Linked DNA regions of Homo sapiens: region 1 is linked to region 2. The links are contacts of gene promoters, found by promoter capture Hi-C in blood cells and fetal thymus (Javierre and others, 2016). All regions are on one chromosome and are shown on one strand. The core of a region is centred on a gene start or on the middle of the fragment in contact, and the rest is flanking DNA. Distances in the headings are between cores, read along the strand shown.

Region 1 (4,083 bases), core at 766-3,265, 1.0 Mb after region 2:
GGTTGAAGGGCCGGGTTTATTCCTCCCTGCAATGAGGGTGGACACTCCCCCAGGAACCACGGGGCAAGAGGGTGTTGGGAAGAGCCCCACTAGGGTTTGGGGTTTGGGTGGGTGGTGGGGAGGGGACAGTCTAGGGACGTAGGGCTCACTAGACCAAGTGCTGTTGGAAAGGGGGCGATTCTCCTGTGGGTGCGTTGGTCACTGTCGCCTGTAGACATGGGAGACCTGCACCAAAATAATGCGGAGATGGGTCAAGAAGCAGCCGCCCCTCCCCTTAGTCGAGAGGGGGGATGGTTGGTGATCGTGGGTGGCACAGTGACCTGTTTCTATCTCACTCTACTGTGATCTCAGAGTGACCTTGTCTGGGGTCACTGGGGTGTTCTGGGAGATGGTTTATATCCAACAGAAGAACGACGCAGCCTGGCAGGAGCTCCAGGTGTCAGGGGGGGGCCCCTTTGGGGTGGAGGGGATGCCTCAGAGCCAGCCGCATGCCACCCCACAAGCTACCTCTCTGCCGCCGTCTGCCCCAGAGCTGCCTGCCTTCCGAGGCCTCAGCTGGTCCTGTGCGTCCCTGCGTCTCCAGGACTCTTGGGTGATGGCTCAGGGGAAGTTTCCAGAAAGCCCAGCCATTTCCTCCTCTCCTCCTGGGCTTGGGTCTGAGGTCAGCTTCCCAGGGGGCACCCAAGCCTCCGTGAGCAAGGACAGAGAGTGGCTGGAGTGAGAACGGGTGCTGCTGACCTTTGGCGGTGGGAGGGTGTCTCCAGCTGTGTTCCCATTTCTCAGTGACTACCAGGTGCTGTGGCCCTTGGCTGCAGAGGGGCGTGCAGGCAGCCTCTCCTTCCTGTGAAGCAGCAGCTGTGGCAGGGCCGGGAAGTAGAGCTCCCCTCTGTGAGGCTGTGGCTGGGGTAGGAGGAGAGCTCTCCCTTCTGCGAGGCTGTGGCTGGGATGGAAGTCTGCCAGAGGCGGGCTCAGAAGAAGTTCCATGAGGAACTGAGGGCTGGGACCTGCAGGAGGAGCTGAGGGTGCATGGGGTCTGGGGGAGCCCCAGAGATGGTCAGGGTCTCCTCCTGATAAATCAGACCCCCCCCCGCCCCACCCTGCCGCTGAGAGGCCTGGTCCTGCTCTAAACCTGGAGTGGATGGGGAGCGTGGGCTGGGGCTGGGGGGCTGGGGAGGTGGTGTAGCCAGTGCCCTGCCCCAACTCAGCCTCTGGTCACCCTTCCAGGGCTGGCAAGGCATTGGGGGTATGAGAGGGCCCTGGGGTCCCAGGGTCTCAGAGGACTTGCCTTCTCTGCGATGGCCGCTACTACCTGGGTCCCACAGGGGGGTAAGTTCAGAGGGGGACCTGGTGGAGGTCGGCTGTGGGCAGGGGAGCCACAGGAGTGTCCAGGCCCCTCCCAGGCCAGCCCCACAGATTCTGAGGCAGCAGTGGGGGCCTCAATGGAGGAGTCCACTCTGCCCACCCCGGATACTGCCCAGCCAGCCTGGGTTCCAGCGTGGGCCAAGCTCTCGTCCTGGTCTCCTGGGAGCTGTGTGGTCCTGCAAGGACCTCAGCACCTTCCTTGCTTTGAGCATCCCTCCCCCAAGGCCTGGCTGACACTCGGAGCCAGTATCCATAGAGGGCTGCAGGGGCAGGCGAGGGTGGACACTGATGTCCTTGGCTCATTCCTCCCTGGCTGGCTGCTCTGATGTCCAGCAGGGTGGGCGTGAGGCTCATGGGGGGCTCCCCAGCCAGGGCAGGACCTGGGGTAACCCTATCCTGGGATGTTTGCTCCCGCTGTGTGGGGGACATGCCGTTTCCATGAGTGACAGAGTCACCGATGTGGCCAGTACCACTGTGGGCTTGAGGCATCTTCTAGTTTAAGGAAATGTTAAATTTCAAGTAAAGCTTAGTGAAAATAAGGATGCAATTTCATTCCCCAACAAAACAACCTCTATTTCCTTCTGTGAACCCCTTGGGAGCTGCAGACCCCGAGTTCCGGACCCCCTCACCTCACTCTCCTCCTTCGGAGCCAAAGTGGTGCCTGAAATCTGAGGCCCCATCTCTGAGTCCTGCACTGGTCCTGGCCCGAACACTCCCCCACAACGCATGGGCCACAAGGACCCTCTGGGCAGATTTTGGGGTGTCTTTGGAGGTTTAGGGGCAAAGCTTGAAAACTGTGGGGTCCTCCCTGGGGACCACATGCCCAGCTGTGGGGTCCCCCGAGGCCGCAGAGCAAGCTTTCTGGAAGATCCTCCTCCTTTGAGAGCCACCATGGAGCCCCCATAATGGGAATGGAGGGTGTTGCCATTAAACATGGCCTTGGCGTTGCCCAGAAGTCTAGGTGTGTCCCTGTCAGCTGGGAGGGGACAGGGTAACTGTGCGGCCCTCCCCAGGGCTGAGGCTGGGGCAGCCTCCAGAGGCCAGGTTGTCGCTGTCACTCCCCAAATGGAGGGTCCCCCTCATTCCCTGATTGCAGAAAAAGGGCTCCAGTAAGTCTGGCTTTTAAAAAATACAGCTTTGCTGACATATGTTTCACACACCGTACAATTCACCCATTTAAACTGTACAGTCCAGTGGTTTCTAGAATATTCAGAGTTGTGTCACTCTCACCATAATCAATTTTAGAACATTTTCATCGTCTCAAGAAGAAACCCTCTAGCTAGCTACCCCTTCCCCATTCCCACGGCTCCCCACCCCTGGTGACCGAGACTCCATTTTCTGTCTTTGTGGGTTTGCTGCTCCTGACGTTTCGCATGCGTGGAGTCATACGCTGAGAGGCCTTTTGTGTGTCGCTTCTGTTGCCCAGCGTTGTTTTCAGGGTTCACCCGCGTGGGAGCTGCATGAGTCCACTTCTTCGTATCGCTGAGTAATATTCCACTGCGGGGCACCGCGTTTTGTGTGAATCTGCCACCACTCAGGATGGCTCATGGGTGGAAACAGCCTAAAGCTGGCAGAGGTTTGGGCTGTTTGCCAGCCCTGGGTCACTTTTGGGCTGTTTCCACCTGGGGGCTATCCTGAGTCGTGCTGCTGTGACCATTTGCGTCCTTTCGTTTCCTCCTGGGTGGAGATTGTGGGGTGGCCTGGCTGGGTCGCTCTGGGCCCAACTCTCTGAGAAGAGCTGTTGAACACATACCCCACAGCTTTTTTTAGTTTTTATTTATTTCATTTTATTTTTTGAGACAGAGTTTCACTCTTGTTGCCCAGGCTGGAGTGCAGTAGCGTGATCTTGGCTCACTGCAACCTCCACCTCTCGGGTTCAAGGGATTCTCCTGCCTCAGCCTCCGAAGTAGCTGGGATTATAGGCATGCGCCACCATGCCCGGCTAATTTTGTATTTTTAGTAGAGACAGGGTATCAACATGTTGGCCAGGCTGGTCTCGAACTCCTGACCTCAAGTGATCCACCTGCCTTGGCCTCCCAAAGTGCTGGGATTACAGGCGTGAGCTGCCTCACCTGGCCTTATTTTATATACTTTTTAAGACGGAGTCTCACTCTGTGAGCCAGCACACCTGGCCCATGGCTTCTTTTAAAAAGAGACTTCTGGAAGCTGAGAAGTCTTTTCCAGGGCTCCACCTGGCGACTGACCACTGGGCATGGTGAGGTCTGCGTTTGGAGGAAGTGGGGTGACAGTGACAGCTGTGACTATTGGAGCACACAGTCGGTGCTGGGCAGGTGGGTCATTCCTGAACCCTCAGTGTTTCCCTCCTCGGGGGTCCTGGCCAGTCACTCTCCTCCTCCACACCAGCCCCCAGCAGCTCGCAGGCTGCCTGGGCCCAGCCCCATCATCAGCCGCTGGGCACCCACCTGAGAGGTCTGAACCCTGCCCTTGGTGCTGCACGGTCACTTGCCATTTTCGCAGAGGGGCCCCCTGAGCAGGAGGAGCAGGGCCAGCATGCACACTGCAGCCAAGGTCCCAAGAAGGAAGTGGCGAGGAGGAGGAGGAGGACTGGCCCCACCTGTTGCCCTATGTCTCACAGCGCAGACTGGGGGAGACGTGAGGATCTAACAGGGGTTCCTGGGGGGCCTTCATCAAGCTGTAATGAATGTTGTGCCAAACCCCTGTCAACACCAGTGGGTACAGCACAGGGTTCAAGGGCTGAAG
Region 2 (3,841 bases), core at 672-3,171:
GGCATTGAGGTTTCTTCACCCCAAGTTTGAAAGGGGTACGCGGGTGAGAGCGAGTGGTAACGAAAAGACAAAGCCTCGCCCCTCCTGGCCAGAGGTTCACCCCCAGGACCTAGGCGGGCGCGGCCGGGCTGCTCGCTGGACCCACGTTAGAGGAGCAGGGCCGCGGAGGGAGGCCCGAGGTGTCCCAGGGACTGGCCTGTCGCTCCCGCAGGCAGTGCCGGTACCCAGGCCGGTTTTTCCACCCTTCCTGCGACTTCCTTTTTGGTATTTTAAATTTACCCGCTCCCCTGCGGTCTACTTATTCCATGGGCTGGATACCCAGGAACCCCAAACACACGGGTTATTTCTGATTTTCTCATTTTGAAAAAGGATGCCCGCCACGTTTCCGTGTTCAGAGGCTACCTGGGCACTCACATCCTCAGCCGGGTGTGGCAGCGGCAGACACTCCCCCTACCCCTGTAAGTGCCCTCGGTGCCTCTCCCTCCTTCCTGGCCCACTGGCAGTGGGCCATTTCTACACCCACCTGCCATCCTCCCCCTTCCCTCATCTCTTTGACATGCTCACACGATTTGCTCAATGAGACGCCAGTTATCCGAATGTGTGTGTGTGTGTGTGGGTGTGTGTGTGACAGTGTGTGTGTGTTTTAATATTCAGGGGGTGGTCATAAACAGGAAGTAGTCACACTAGGTGCCTCTACCCTTACCCTAACCGGTGGAGTGGGGAGGAGAGGCCCCCTTCGAAATCAGCATGATTCAGGATTTTTTATTCAAACAGTGATGTGGGAAAATGTAAAATGAGATGGGGGTGGAGGGCCGCGTACACCCCAGGGTGGGTGGATACAGGGAGAGCAAGCAGGCTTCCCAAATGCCTAATGTAATCACGGGCCAGCTGCATGCACTTGTAAAGTTGTTATAACCCCCTCCTTGTTATAAACAGGAAAGCCCAGAATATAAAGCTGGAGACCCACATTCACAAATACCAGGCCTCCCGCGCCAGCTGCCACGGCCTCCTTTTATGGTGTTCCTCTCTTGCAACCTTGGCCCCATCAGGAGGACCTTACTTTTGCCCCCGGTTCTCTAAATGGGTTTATTTTGAAACCTTCCTCAATGGAGCTGTGGACCATGAGCTCTTCCCCAGGCCCCCAGTGCCTTAGGCCTTCCCTTCCAGAGAGACTGGGCTCCCAGAGTCCACTTTCCCTCCGATTTCCGGAGAGCCCTGGAAGGGAGGGTGTGGGAGAGCAGGTCCCTAGAGAGTGCCACCTCCTACTGGGTCTGCCACCTGTTTTTCCAGGGAGGGCCGCATCCCCTTCTCAGCAGACACTCAGGCTTCTTAGATACTCTCCCTGCCCCAATCTAAAAGGTTCCTAGGACCTCAGAAAGTGTTTTACTAGACTGTGGCATCTCGATATCTCCGGTTAAGCCTGGGAGAAGAAAAGACCTTTTGTGGGAGGCCCTGGCGTTATGGGGCTCCCCCAGGCCAGCGTAAAACTCATCCCTGCACACCCACCCCCATCTCCACCTCTCCTTCCTGGCTCAGCAGACCCTGCTCTGAGCCACCGCAGTCTACATCCTGCCTCACTGACTGTGTGTGCTTACAGCGTCAAGGGGTGGACGTGATATTTCAAACATCAGATCAGTGCGTTTATATATTGGGTGCCCGGAAATTTTTCCAAATAAACACAGCTTGATTCAACTTGGGTGGGCGGACTTATCAACAGACTAATTCTATAAACAAATGAAGGAATAGCCCCAAAACCGATTGGCTGGTATCAAAAAGACACGTGGAGGGAAAAGCTTGGAGTTTTTCAGCAATGAAATTTTAATTAATGTGGGTGGGCTGAGAACACAAGGACTGTTTATCATAGACAATTTATTTTCCAGGGCTAAGTCAACATATAACAGCAAACTTACAACAATTATTTAACATTTTTAAAGCCATGAAGAAGGGACAGAGCACGGAGCGGCCGGGGAGAGCGGCAGAGCCAGAGGCAGAGGCACGGCTGGCTCCCCGGGAGGGCCCTTGCGGCGCGGGGCGCAGTGCCTAGGCCGCCCGGGTCTCCTGCGTTGCGGGGAGCGCAGCGCAGGCTCTCGCTTGCCATGAGTCACCTCTTCGATCCCCGGCTGCCTGCCCTGGCCGCCTCGCCCATGCTGTATCTGTACGGTCCCGAGAGACCCGGCCTCCCTCTGGCCTTCGCCCCCGCGGCTGCTCTAGCTGCCTCGGGCCGGGCCGAGACCCCGCAGAAGCCTCCCTACAGCTACATCGCGCTCATCGCCATGGCGATCCAGGACGCGCCCGAGCAGAGGGTCACGCTCAACGGCATCTACCAGTTCATCATGGACCGCTTCCCCTTCTACCACGACAACCGGCAGGGCTGGCAGAACAGCATCCGCCACAACCTCTCGCTCAACGACTGCTTCGTCAAGGTGCCCCGCGAGAAAGGGCGGCCGGGCAAGGGCAGCTACTGGACGCTGGACCCCCGCTGCCTGGACATGTTTGAGAACGGCAACTACCGGCGCCGGAAGAGGAAGCCCAAGCCGGGCCCCGGGGCCCCGGAGGCCAAGAGGCCCCGCGCCGAGACGCACCAGCGCAGCGCGGAGGCGCAGCCGGAGGCGGGGAGCGGGGCAGGGGGCTCGGGCCCCGCAATCTCCCGCCTGCAGGCAGCGCCCGCGGGCCCCTCGCCCCTCCTGGACGGCCCCTCTCCGCCGGCGCCCCTCCACTGGCCGGGGACCGCGTCCCCGAACGAGGACGCTGGTGACGCTGCCCAGGGCGCAGCGGCCGTGGCGGTCGGCCAGGCAGCGCGCACAGGGGACGGCCCGGGGTCCCCTCTGCGCCCCGCCTCCCGCAGCTCTCCGAAGAGCTCCGACAAGTCCAAGAGCTTCAGCATAGACAGCATCCTGGCGGGAAAGCAGGGCCAGAAGCCGCCTTCAGGGGACGAACTCCTAGGGGGTGCCAAGCCTGGGCCCGGCGGCCGTCTGGGTGCCTCGCTCCTGGCCGCCTCCTCCAGCCTCCGTCCGCCTTTCAACGCTTCCCTGATGCTCGACCCGCATGTCCAGGGCGGCTTTTACCAGCTCGGGATCCCCTTCCTCTCTTATTTCCCCCTGCAGGTTCCCGACACGGTACTCCACTTCCAGTAAAGCAAACAATGGCACGGTTCTTCTCCCGGCCCAGCCTGAGCCTCCGCTGAGCGAAAGGCCACAGCTCCCACCGGCGGAGGATTTTAAAATGATCTTTGCCTGGGTCGGCCTGTGGGTTCAGGGAAGTGTTACCAACCATTGCGCGCAGGTGGGCGCGCTCGCCTGCCTTCTCCGAAGCAAACTTTTCCCAGCAACTGGGAGCAGCTACGGAGACTTAAAAGATCCCCGCGGGGTCGTGGGCACCGCACGTGGGCCCTGCAGGGACCTCCACCGCGGGAGATTCCTTGACGTTTGACCTGTCTAATGGAGTGTGGTCTTCAGCCGCCCACCGCAGGTCCTGCGAGTCCCGGGCATGCAAGGGCCCGCAGACCACCCAAGGCAGGCCTTACAGGTGCAGTTGAGGTCCTTTCGACCGGGGACCCCCGTATGACCGTCGCCTGCTTCGCTGTTGCCGTGTGGCTCAGGCCTTGGTTTTGAGCCCATCTGGGTGGTGGGTGGTCACAGCTGGGTTTGTTCCTGACTTGAAGTTGTGGAGGTGCCGGGGGTGACCCCGGGTTTTCAGGTTTTCTGAGAGATGTAGGGCCCGATGAGGATTTATGACCAATGTTCAGCTATAGAAGCTGATAACCACCCAGAGCAATAACACTTTTATTTTAAACAGAGACTTTTTCTCTTAATTTCTTTCTGGGTAGTAAAAAGAACATGTT

The links. The method cuts DNA at HindIII sites, captures the fragments that hold promoters and counts their contacts. A CHiCAGO score of 5 or more calls a contact.
Region 1: a fragment that was not itself captured here is called in contact with the fragment with the promoter of FOXL1 in region 2 in 1 of 17 cell types (total CD8 T cells); the score reaches 5.3 in total CD8 T cells.

The regions. Positions count from the first base shown.
Region 1 is chr16:87,621,659-87,625,741 of GRCh38, forward strand. All of the region lies in intron 1 of JPH3 (junctophilin 3), which reads left to right. Among named protein-coding and RNA genes, the nearest start is that of JPH3, 21 kb to the left of the region's middle. The HindIII fragment of the contact is 261 bases long and covers 1,886-2,146 here.
Region 2 is chr16:86,576,628-86,580,468 of GRCh38, forward strand. FOXL1 (forkhead box L1) reads left to right here and starts at 1,922. Exons shown (of 1, transcript NM_005250.3): 1 at 1,922-3,841. The coding sequence starts at 2,097. The coding sequence ends at 3,134. RefSeq lists an enhancer at 2,782-3,403. The HindIII fragment of the contact is 3,987 bases long and covers 1,792-3,841 here.